Linked DNA regions of Homo sapiens: regions 1 and 3 are each linked to region 2. The links are contacts of gene promoters, found by promoter capture Hi-C in blood cells and fetal thymus (Javierre and others, 2016). All regions are on one chromosome and are shown on one strand. Each heading gives the region's core, a stretch centred on a gene start or on the middle of the fragment in contact. The rest is flanking DNA. Distances are from core to core; before and after follow the strand shown.

The links. Contacts are between HindIII fragments. The CHiCAGO score rates a contact against its expected background, and 5 or more counts as called.
Region 1: a contact is called between the fragment with the promoter of DENND11 here and a fragment that was not itself captured in region 2, in 1 of 17 cell types (naive B cells). The highest score is 5.1, in naive B cells.
Region 3: a contact is called between the fragment with the promoter of FMC1 here and a fragment that was not itself captured in region 2, in 1 of 17 cell types (total B cells). The highest score is 6.2, in total B cells.

Annotation. Positions count from the first base shown.
Region 1 is chr7:141,700,474-141,704,439 of GRCh38, forward strand. DENND11 (DENN domain containing 11) reads right to left here and starts at 1,693. Exons shown (of 9, transcript NM_001080392.2): 1 at 1,413-1,693. The coding sequence starts at 1,680. It overlaps WEE2-AS1 (WEE2 antisense RNA 1), which reads right to left. Exons shown (of 4, transcript NR_199841.1): 4 at 3,530-3,966. The HindIII fragment of the contact is 7,386 bases long and covers 1-3,966 here.
Region 2 is chr7:140,476,643-140,480,667 of GRCh38, forward strand. It overlaps MKRN1 (makorin ring finger protein 1), which reads right to left and starts at 2,863. Exons shown (of 8, transcript NM_013446.4): 1 at 2,518-2,863. The coding sequence starts at 2,702. RefSeq lists silencers at 2,094-2,173, 2,454-2,593, 2,884-2,993 and enhancers at 2,129-2,969, 3,300-4,025. The HindIII fragment of the contact is 221 bases long and covers 1,344-1,564 here.
Region 3 is chr7:139,339,496-139,343,419 of GRCh38, forward strand. It overlaps FMC1 (formation of mitochondrial complex V assembly factor 1), which reads left to right and starts at 1,842. Exons shown (of 2, transcript NM_197964.5): 1 at 1,842-2,027. The coding sequence starts at 1,890. It overlaps FMC1-LUC7L2 (FMC1-LUC7L2 readthrough), which reads left to right and starts at 1,842. Exons shown (of 11, transcript NM_001244584.3): 1 at 1,842-2,027. The coding sequence starts at 1,890. TRR-CCT4-1 (tRNA-Arg (anticodon CCT) 4-1) reads left to right here and starts at 1,205; the gene lies at 1,205-1,277. It also overlaps a transcript of LUC7L2 not described here. RefSeq lists enhancers at 1,023-1,082, 1,393-1,462, 1,493-1,562, 1,818-2,385, 1,833-2,082. The HindIII fragment of the contact is 22,532 bases long and covers 1-3,924 here.

The sequences.
Region 1 (3,966 bases), core at 443-2,942, 1.2 Mb after region 2:
TCTGAAAAAAAAAAAAAAGAGAGAGAAAAAAGAATGCATTACATGTAGAAGGAGTCAGCACTACTTCATGAAATGTCTATTTCAGTTACATAAGTACTGTACGTGTATGTGAGCATATTGGTTGTGATGTAAAATTAACTTCACATGATAGATCAGTCAAAAGAGTTTGAAAGCCATGGAATGTGGCAAAGAAACAAGCAGAAGTCACAAAGGCCTGAATTGTCCCCACAAACTCTGTCCCTGCAAATGGAGCTCCACAGTGAATCCCACATTCTTCCTGTGTCCTACAGCTGAGAACCCCAAAATTACCGGCCTGGAACCCATCATCAGCTGCCATACCAGATTCCCCTTCTCCAGATCCTAACCCCTTTTTTTCTCCACTCCATCCCACCTCATCCCAGAAAGCAGCCAATATTTTCCCGCACGAACAGGCACTCCACACTCCAGCAGCTGCCCTGGAGACATTGACAGTCACACCTGGGTTTCCTTAAGCCCTGACACCACGACTCCTGCGATGACACCTCCTTCCCCCAACCCCGAACAGCAGAGCCACTCTCAGAGTCAGAAGTCCCTAGCTGACCCTCCAAGGCTTCCTGGGCGCGCAGGGTCGTTCTTCCACCTTCTGTCCCCCGTGGACTCTCACCTGGAAAACGCACACCCCCCTGCCGGGTGGTTAGGCTAAGATTATGTGGGATAAGACTTTAATTCTCCAAGCATCTCCGAAAGACAGCCTATCCGGGGAGGCTTCTCCTTTAATCAGCCTTCAGCTGAATCCCTCAGCCCCATCCCTTAATGCTCCCGGCGTTAATTCCTCAAAATAATGCAGTCAGAGAAAGTGAACTTGGCCGCTAGGAAAGTTACCCCAGAGGAAGCGACGGGGAGCTAGGGCGAGCGGGGAGCGGGGGACGGGGTGGGGGGCGAGCGGGGAGCGGGGGACGGGGTGGGGGGCGAGCGGGGAGCGGGGGACGGGATGGGGGGCGAGCGGGGAGCTCAGGGCGCTCGCCCGGGGGGTTTCCTCCGCACAACGTGAAAAATCTTCTAGCCCCCAAGAAAAGAAAACAAAACCCAACGTGGCCACAAACCGGATGCCCTGTCACTGAAGTGCGAACACCACTGTGGGGCTGGGACTCAGAGGAGAGGAGGGGAGGGGAGAGGAGGTCGGCGGGGCTGGAACAAAGCCCTCGGGGCCGCTCCGAGAGGCCGCGCGCCAGCACCCAGCTGCGCCCCGAGGGAGAGAGCTGAGGACTGGCCGACCCCCGCCCTTCCCCAAGCCCGGGAGCCCGGGGCCGGCCCTGGTGCGGGGTGCGGGGCCGGGAGGGCAGGTGCGCGCGCAGCGAGCCCCTCCCCCGCGCCCCCAAAGCTCGGGGGCACCCCGACCCTCCCCACGCGCCTGGCCCCGGCGCGGCCCTCACCCGAGCGGGGGTCGAAGGTGACCACGAACACGGCCACCACCTGGTCCTCCTCCACGTCGCCCAGCTCCAGGCGCCCGGGCTGCAGCAGCACCTCCGGGGCGGCCGGCTCCTCGGGCTCCCGCCTCCGGGGCGGCTCCGCGGCCGGCCGGGCGCCCCCGCCGCCGCCCCGGCCCCAGCCTCCCGCCTGCGGCTGCGGGGCCTGCGGCAGGGAGACGGCGGGGCCCTCGGCCCAGCGCAGCAGCGGCGCCGCGTCTCCCTGCTCCACCATGGCTAGGCGAGGCGGAGCCGCGGGCGCGAGGGGCGGGGCGGGCGGGCTGCGGGAACCCCCCTCGCCTGGCCGCGCCAACGCCGCCGCCGCCCGCCGGGTCTGGCGCTGCCCGGGGCCCCGCCGCGGAGGCGCCTTTCCCACGGAGCCAGAGCAGGCGTCCGCGGAGCCGGCTTCGGGAACCGCGAGCCTATTCGGAGGCGCCCGTGTGCACGTCCGTGTGTGGGACGCGTGCGGCCGGAACGTTCATCCTTGCGTCCATACACCTGTGTGCGGGTGGAGGTGCCTTCTCACCTAGGGTTCCGTGGTATAGCTACCACTGTGAGTTTTTATGTCACCATTATTTTTTAAAGTCCGCTGGTCCTGTGGACCGTGACAGATATGTATTACATAATCCTGGATGTGTGGCAGAAGCTGCTTCTAAGCAGAGGAGTGAAGCAGAGGTGCTCTGGCTACCCAGGTGTTTGCAATATACTCATCAATAAACACTGAAAAGGCCATAGGGTTAAAGTTTGGGAATTTTGTTCTTCCTTTTATATTACAAACTGATTAGGATGGAGATTATGAGTTTATTTCCTGGTATATATACAACTTGAGGGTATTAAATTAGGAGGTGCTGGAGCATTTGTGGGACGAGGGATATTCCCTCAGAAGATCAGGAAAAGGAAGTTGCTCAGGGGAGAAAGAGGAAAGTCAGCTCTAAAGCTGATGGCTTTGGAAATGGATTAGGGGTTTTCTGTGAACCCCCATTTTATATTTAAAAATAAATTTTACATGCCTCAATCCTTGAGGTAAATCTAGCAGCTAAGTAACTCTTTAAGAGGAGATGTGTATAAAAATAGGAATAGCTATTAAAATAGAAAGAAGGAGGTGGCAAGAGAAGGAGGTACACAGTTCATCCAGGGTTCAGCAAGGCTCCATGGTTTGCCTGTTCGCAAAAGGACCCAGTAGAGCTATGTGCTGGGTGCTACTCCACGGGATGTTTATGAACCTCCGTGTCCTACACGTCAGCACTGCAATGATAATGTGATTTAACCCCTATCCCTAAGAAGATAATCAATGACTGCCCTAGGCTGCCACTTCTAATCTAAAATCTATGATATAACAATAAAGAATGTACTTATGCAGCATTTTACCCCCAAGAACAGGGTCTACTTTCATTATTTACATATTTAGTTCAGCCTTTCCTGAAAGGTAAAACTTCAGCATAGGAATCTCTTGATTGGATCAGAAGGATGAAGAAGTAGCTGTGGATGTTTGACCAAGTTACTGATGACCTCCAGAGCTCATCCCTTGGAGCACTGACAGCAAATAAGTCAAGACGGAGCACAGTAGAGATCCATCTCTGAGAATGTCTCCTCCATACCTGCTCATTTCTTCCCAGTGAGGCACTGTGTGTGTGTGTGTGTGTGTGTGTATGTATGTATGTGATGTGGGAGAGGCAGAAACAGACATACACACATACATACACACACAGAGACAGACAGAGAGAGAGAGAGATCTTATTTCTGTGGCCGGGGGCGGTGGGGCTGGCCTTGGTGCAGGTCACACAGGTGACCCATTACCTGTTCTAATCTTAGGGACTCCGGGAATGACCACAGCCCAACTGTGACTAACAGAGAAAAGGTCAGACTAGTGGGTCTGTACCATCGTTTTAAAATGTCTGCTCCTTAAAGTATCGGTAGGATATCATCAATCTCTAAATTACTGGGACATCAAATCAGAGATCTATTCCTATTCTAAGTATGCTATGTGTTGTGTGTGTAGACAAGTGGTATGTTTCTACTGTCACAGCTATTTTGATGAATAATCTCTAGTTCTAGCAAATGGGAAACTTTGGCAAGAGAAGCAATTTGTTAAAATCTGTTTGATTTATTCATCAGATAGATTTATAGTAGATTTCAAATTAATAGAATAACCTAGGGGTTTTTATTAATGGCACTAAAGTATCCATGGGTAAAATATGTTGTCACTGATTTGCTTCACAATACCCCAGCACTCACCCTCAATGAAGTTGCAGTTATGAACTAAACAAGACTGTAAAGCCATACATAATTTTTGAAGCTAGGTTATGGATACATAAGGACTCATTATAGTATTTTCTCTATTTTTGGTATGTTTGAACATTTCCATGAGAAAAAGTTAAACAAAAAGGAGGAAAGGGTTAATAACAGACTCCTAGGCTTTAAAGCAGCCTCCAGGCTTTATTTACTTAGCCCGTAATCCTTCCTTGGAATTCTGTTGTGCCGGCAGTGCCACCCATGAGATACAATTTTATGAGCACTTTGA
Region 2 (4,025 bases), core at 204-2,703:
TACTCAGTATCTGCTCAGGATACTCAGTAACTGAGTATCCTGTTCATGATACTGGAACTGAGGAAAGAAACTGAGGAACTGAGGAAAGAAAGCCCTGCAGATAAAATAGGGCCCTACTCTTCTCAGAGAGCTCAAAGTGAACGATAAGGATCATAGACCGGGTGCGGTGGCTCACGCCTCTAATCCCAGCACTTTGGGAGGCTGAGGCCGGCAGATCACCTGAGGTCGGGAGTTCAAGACCAGCCTGACCAACACGGAGAAAGCCCGTCTCTACTAAAAATACAAAATTAGTCAGGTGGGCATGGTGGTGCACGCCTGTAATCCCAGCTACTAAGGCATCTGTAATGCCAGAGACTGAGGCAGGAGAATCAATTAAACCTGGGAGGCGGGGGTTGTGGTAAGTAGAGATCACACCATTGCACTCCAACCTGGGAAACAAGAGGGAAACTCTGTCTCAAAAAAAAAAAAAAAAAAATGATAGTTGACATTCCTCTATCTAAAGGAGAAAATAGTTTTAAGTAAGAGATCATGTTGGTACCTAGAACAACCGAAAACAATGTCAAACACTAAAACCCCAGACCTATCAAGGAATCTGCACAACAATAAAAAACTGTCTCAAGCAAAAGCTATACAAAAAACCCCCAAAAACTAGTAAATCTAAGCTCTTTCTTTTCTTTCTTTTTCTTTTTTGTTTTTCTTCTGACAGAGTTTCACTTTCGCCCAGGCTGGAGTGAAGTGGTGTGATATTGGCTCACCGCAACCTCTGCCTCCTGGGTTCAAGCAACTCCCTGCCTCAGCCTCCGGAGTAGCTGAGATTACAAGCGCCTGTCACCACGCCCGGCTAATGTTTTTTGTATTTTCAGTAGAGACGGGGTTTCACCATCTTGGCCAGGCTGGTCTTGAGCTCCTGACCTCGTGATCCACCTGCCTTGGCCTCCCAAAGTGCTGGGATTACAGGTGTGAGCCACTGTGCCCGGCCTAATTTTTGTATTCTTAGTAGAGACAGGGTTTCACCATGTTGGCCAGGCTGGTCTCGAACTCCTTACCTCAGGCGATCCGCCCGCCTCAGCCTCCCAAAATGCTGGGATTACAGGCGTGAGCCACCACGCCGACCTAGCCACCCCGACAGGCCGGTTTCAATCTTTTAAAAGATGTAACTAGCACATATAGATCAACTGTAGCATTGTAAAAGGGAAACAGATATTCAAATAATTTGCTCCATGAGTAGAAACTTTAAAATCATCATTCCTGGCAATATTCCACTTTTACAATCCACCGATGAATAAGACAAGTGACCTGAAATTGCGTTTATGCTTTCTACATCCCATTATGTAAAATAATTAAGCTTATCCTTCACACCTTAAATGTATCATATCAAAGGCTGAGAGACCTTCGAAGGTCGCCAGGATAAATGTATCACATCAAAGACTGGGAAGGTTTCAAATTTCACCCTTAATACTACAAGTTCTAATTAGGAATCATTTTTACATACTTGCATATAAATTATACCACCCAGGTGAAAACCGGCATTTCAGTTGATTTATTCAACTGATAGAAAAAGAAAAGCTTACAGTCGCTACTGATCACTATTTAAAAACCGGAAAATAAAAAACGTACAATTAAATGCCCTCTTCTGCGTAGAGCTAGGTAGTTTTTTACAACCATACACATCCATACAACCGCCATCCCTTAATTTTTCTAATATTTTCGTCTCGCATATCAAACCAAAACCAAACCTCTCTCTCTTCCGGGAGCGAAGAGCCCTTTCACTCCCTTCGGAAGATGCGTAAATTTCAAAAGAGGAACATAGCGCTGGGGGAGGGTAATAATCTGCAGCTCAAAAAAACCGCGGGTGGAGAAGACGACCCCGGCCCCCGAACGCCTGCTTCTAAGACAAAGCTCAGCACCGCCAACCTCGACAAACATACAAAGAAGAAATACAAAAGCTTCTTCTCACAGTTGGGCGGAGGATGGGGGGCGGAGGGACGGAGGGACGTGAAAAGACGTTACAAACGGATGGCACGGAGAGAGGAGAGGGCCGGGAGCCAGGCAAGCTCGCTGGGGCCCTCGGCGGGGTGTCTAGGCCCGGAGAGGATCGCTGGGAGACCGGCCTCAAGTGACCACCTCCCGAGCCCCGGGAGCCGGAGGCAGCGGCGGGGGCATCCTTCCAGCGGCAGGGGAGGAGCCAGCCCACCTCTCCCCGATGCGCTCGCAGCCAGCTCAGGCAGCGCTCAGGGAAGTGTAAGCGGCGGTGCAGCCCCGCGGCTCCGCAGTAATCGCGCACCGCCAGGCCTCCGCGGACAGCGCTGAGGGCTCCGCGGCCCAGCGGGGGTTGACGCAGTGACTGGGGGAACGCGGCGGCAGCGGGGGCCGCGAGGGCTGCAGAGATCGAGACAACGCCGGTCCCCGCCCTCCCGCGCCTCTAGCCGCAGGCCGGCCGCCCTCCTCCCTCCCGCGCCGCAGGCTTGGCCCGCGGCCCCCTCCCCGCGCCCGGCGCTCCGCCGCGCAACGTCCTACCTGCAGGTGACCTGTTTAGTCCAGCCGCCGCCGCTGCCGTCGCTGCCGCCGCCCCCTCCGCCCGCCCCCAGGGACGGGGCGGTGACTGTGGGGATCGGGGTGGGGGAGGCTGCTGCCGCCGTCGCCGCTGCCGCTCCTGCTCCTGATGTTGTGGCTGTTGTTCCGGGAGTTGCAGCCTCCGCCATTACTGTTTATCCCACACAGCAAAGGCCCCGGAACTTCCGGGATCACATAGTTCCGGTCCGGCTGCGGGGAGAGGACGGCGAGGCCAGGCGAGGGGAGGGGAAGGACACTGAGGCACCCGTTCGGTCCCCGCCTGCTACGCGTCGCGTATCTGAGCGCTCTCGCCACTTCAACTGCGGGCCCAGAGCATGCGCGCCCGCGGCCCGCCCACGGCGCCGCTCATTGGTGGAGGGGACGTCTCCTCCGGAAAGGGGCGGGGCAAACGGGGGTCTGTACAGGTGTGTCCTAGGCTCGAAACCCCGGCGACGAAAGTCCATAGTTAGCGGCTTTCTTCCTAGCAGAGGCTGATATAGTGGAGCTGGGGCTGGGGACTAGGGACTTGCAGTCGGAAGACCTGGGTTTGAATCTGCACTTTCCCATTTCTCTAGTAATATTTGAGCTAGGTACTTGTTCTATCTGAGCCTCCGTTTCAGCCTCTCTCGAATAAGGATGACAGCAGACCCACATATGGTTGCTGTGAGGATTATATGATGTCCTTAGAAATCACTGAGCTTAGTGCCTGGTACATGGTAAACACTTAATAAAGGTTATCTCATTCCTGGTATCAGAGATGTGATCTTGGCCAAGTATTTTGGCTGAGCAATGCTCTAGAGGGCTGGTCCCCTTATCTCCAGGCTTCCCTTTCTAAGCCATGGGTCTTCTAGCAAATTATCCTACCTCTTGGTGCTCCTGCTTTCTCCTCTGTAAAAACGACAATAATAATAATAATAGGCCAGGCGCGGTGGCTCACGCCTGTAATCCCAGCACTTTGGGAGGCTGAGGTAGGCGAATCACCTGAGGTCATGAGTTCGAGATCAGCCTGGCCAACGTGGTGAAACCCCGTCTTTACTAAAAATACAAAAATTAGCCGGGTGTAGTGGCTAGTCCCAGTTACTCAGGAGGCTGAGGCAGGAGAATTCCTTGAACCCGGGAGGCGGAGGTTGCAGTGAGCCGAGATCGCGCCACTGCACTCCAGCTTGGGCGACAGAATGAAATTCCGTCTCAAAATAATAATAATAGTAATAGATAATAGTACCTACTTCAGAGATGGCTGTGAAAGTTAAATGAGAATCTGTTTAAAAACCTTTGTACTGGCCGGGCGCGGTGGCTCACGCCTGTAATCCCAGCACTTTGGGAGGCCGAGGGGGGCGGATCACCAGGTCAGGAGATTGAGACCATCCTGGCTAACACGGTGAAACCCCGTCTCTACTAAAAAATACAAAAAAATTAGCCGGTCATGATGGCGGGCGCCTGTAGTCCCAGCTACTCCGAGGCTGAGGCAGGAG
Region 3 (3,924 bases), core at 592-3,091, 1.1 Mb before region 2:
AAGCCCAAAGGGTAAAGAGGCATATTAATACAAATGGTTAAGTTTCAGGCAGAGGGAATATCAGGTAAGGTGTGTGGTGGGGAAGAGACAATGAAAGTGGAGATACCTGGAGCAGAGGGTGATAAGCGAAAAGTGAGAGATGAAGATTAAGGTACAAGCGAGGATCAATTTATGTCGTCTGAGCTTTATCTTAGGGACAATGGGAAGCCCCTGTGATACTATAAGGGTAAGTTTACTGGGACTCCGAAGTGATTTGTTCGTTATACAATTAGGAACAGAACCAAAAAATGAACTGCTAATTTTTAAAATTAATTCCTAATCAATGTACTATTACTTCCCCGCTGTCCCATGTTTATCGCTGACGCACCAATTCAAAGGACACGGCACATGTTTCTTTTTTTTTTTGAGATGGAGTTTCGCTCCTGTTGCCCAGGCTAGAGAGCAATGGCGCGATCTCGGCTCACTACAACCTCCGACTCCAGGGTTCAAGCAATTCTCCTGCCTCAGCCTCCGGAGTAGCTGGGATTACAGGCATGCGCCACCACGCCCGGCTAATTCTGTATTTTTAGTAGAGACAGGGTTTCTCTGTGTTGGTCAGGCTGGTTTCAAACCCCCGACCTAAGATGATCCGCCCGCCTCGGCCTCCCAAAGTACTGGTATTACAGGCGTGCGCCACCACGCCCGGCCTGCGGAAATGGCCTCAACGCTTCAACCGGAAGCAGAAATTGACCGCGGCAGGCGCCATCTAACGGCCGCTGGAGCAAAGCTCCTCCTGGAAATTCGCAACACCGGAAAAGGTCCGGCTGCTTCCGGTAAAAACCCACCAGAGCTGACGTTCAGAGGGCGAGTCTCGAAGATCCGGCCAATTTGCCCAGCGCGCTGTGCTCCGCGACGGCGCATGCCCGCTTTTGCGCAGGCGCGGGGACTACGGCGCAGGCGCGGAGACTATTGCGCAGGCAAGCGCGTACGCAGAAGCGTGCGCGCGCCCGTTCAACGTCCGGAGCATCGGTGCAGTTTCGAGGGTAAAGCCTTTGGCGCGGTGATGTGGACTTTTGTTCTCTAACTACAACTCCCAGCATACGTCACCCCTCACGTGGGCGCTAGGTGTGGTTTCGTGGGATAGGGTAAGGCGAAAATGAAGTGACGATGACGTACCAAAGAGGAAAATAGTTGAATATGTTGTGTGAGCGCGTCGTTTGCAGAAGCCCCAGTGGCCTAATGGATAAGGCATTGGCCTCCTAAGCCAGGGATTGTGGGTTCGAGTCCCATCTGGGGTGGCCTGTGACTTTTGTCCTTTTTTCCCCTTTCTAAACAAAGCGAAATATGCCAACTTTACTTTTTTTTTTTTTAAATGGGAAGTGTGTGTGTGTTTTTACTAGCTGGTGGGCTGCAATTTTCGAGAATCTGCACACACCCATGTCCTTTGTCTGAGCCGCAGGTCCCCTGGGATTTGGGGAGACGTCAATACGTTGAATTTTGATATCCCTTTTATAAATCATTTAAAAATGTCTTCTCAGCGTGTTCCATATCAAATCCACACCCACACCCCCCGCCGGGCCCGCTTCTCCTGAGACTCAGCGGTTGGTCGGCTAACGGGCATCTTCAATGACGCAGTGAAGAAAAGCCCCTGTTTCCCCAAACCCTTGTTCTGGGTTAGAGGTCCTGGTACCTTCAGTTAACAGTCGGGTTTCGTTTGATTTTGTTACGGCGCCCCTGGGCCTTCGATTAATAAGGTTCGGTCAACGGACAAGTGAGCGGTTCCACTGCTCGTCAGTCGATAGGGGGAGTCGGTAGTCTGTCCGACCGTACCATTAGGCGCCTGGGCCGGAGGAGGGGTTTTCAGGGTCGTAGGACGCCGTTGGGCACCACGCTCGGAGAAGGACAGGACAATGGCGGCCTTAGGGTCCCCGTCGCACACTTTTCGAGGACTTCTGCGGGAGTTGCGCTACCTGAGCGCGGCCACCGGCCGACCCTATCGCGACACCGCGGCCTATCGGTACCTTGTGAAGGCTTTCCGTGCACATCGGGTACGGGAGCCATGTCCCGGGTGCTCTACGTGCTGGGGAGGGAGGAAGAGCCGGGTCTGGGCTAGGGTGGGGAGCACGGTGTTTAATTCCTGCATTTCTGAGGCCAACCCTCCCACGGAGCCCTGGTTCTGACCAAACCAACCCAGGCCCTAGGCTCCATGCTCTGGCATAAACTCGGGGACCAAAGGACCAGCGGGGGGGGGCGCAGAGTCGCTCTGGGGACGTCAGCCTGTCCTGCAGAGGGGCGGACCCGTCCCGAAGGATTTCATTGGCTGGTCTGTTGCCTCTGCGGAGGGCAGTCAGGAAAGTGGAATGGAGGATTCAATGCTGGGGATAAAACAATGAAGATGGAGTTGAAGGGTGTACTGTTGCTAGACTTAAAGCCACAGCATCTGGCCAACAATTTCCTCACCCGTCCCCTAGAAAAGTTATTCTAAGAAGCATTTCTTTTTGAGGCGGAAAAGAACAACTGGGCTTTAGGGAAGGAAACTTGCTGCCCTTGAGCAATGTGGGGAAAGGGAGAACGATCAACTGTCGAATTTCTGAGCCACGGACGTCAGAATGTAAAATCTTAGAACTCAAATTCACCTAGTTTTTAAAAGGTGGCAACGTTAGGGTCTGTGCTAGGAACCTGGTCTAAACAGGAAGAATCAGATGCACATGTGTCCTGTCCTTAAGACACTTGCTGCCCACCTAAGGAGCCATACAGTAAAGTACTGAGGATAAATAAGTGCTCAAGGTGTAGACAACAGGGGCTGGGGTATAAAGAAGGGGTAGTTAGGGAAGGTTTTCCGGAGGAAATTAATCAGGGACCTGAAGGCTAATTTGGAGTTAGCAAGTAAATTGGGGTTAGGGTCCAGGTTTAAAAGCTACACAATTGAAAGCCCAAGGGGAGAAAAATTGCCAGTTGAGAGTGGTTTAGCCCTAAGGTGTGGTGGGTGAAGTGGAGGTAGATGAAGTGGTAGGCCGAACAGGAACTTAAACTTTATTGTAAGTGTAATGGGAAGCCATTCTAAGATTGTGATCACCTCCCAGGTTCAAGCGATTCTCCTGCCTCAGCCTCCCGAGTAGTACAGGCAGGCGACATGCGACACCACGCCCGGCTAATTTTGTATTTTTAGTGGAGACGGGGTTTCTCCATGTTGGTCAGGCTGGTCTTGAACTCCTGACCTCAGGTGATCCGCCTGCCTCGGCCTCCCAAAGTGTTGTAATTACAGGCGTGAACTATCAAACCTGGCCCCATTCTAAGATTTTTAAGGAGGTGACATGATTATAGTTGTACCTTATGGGGATAACATTATTACCCTTGAGAGAGACTTGGTAATGGTTCTGAAATTCATGGTACATTCTGGAAATACCACTCTGGAATGCACTTGAGCATAGGGGAAATGGTTTCTGTTTCCTTCAGGCTCACAGCTAACTGAATAACCATCCCATTTTCTCTATCCTTTCCCTCCGGAGAAGGGATTCTATTAGGGAGAAACCTACCCTTTCTCCACAGGGAAAATACAGTGTTCTATTTCATTTGATCTCTTTTGGGTTCTTGTGATCTATTTACTGTTTCCTGTCTATTGCTGACCCTTTTGTCCTCATGATTCAGGCTCAACCGAATCAAGAGCAGTATTCTATCCTACATTAACCTAGAATTCCCATGTCAAATTCCACAAATTTGGGCTTATATATTAATAGAAGTGGATGCTATGATTTGTTAATGCTTGACATTGGTGTTGATTTCTCATAAAATTTAAATTACTAAAAAGTTAAATTTGTATTAAAGCAGATTAATTCTGTTTTTAAGCAGCTAATGAATGTTGCTTTCAACATGATCTGCAGATCCTAAAACCCACATTCTAACAGCATGGGCAACATAGTGTAGTGAGACTTCCTCTCCAAAAAA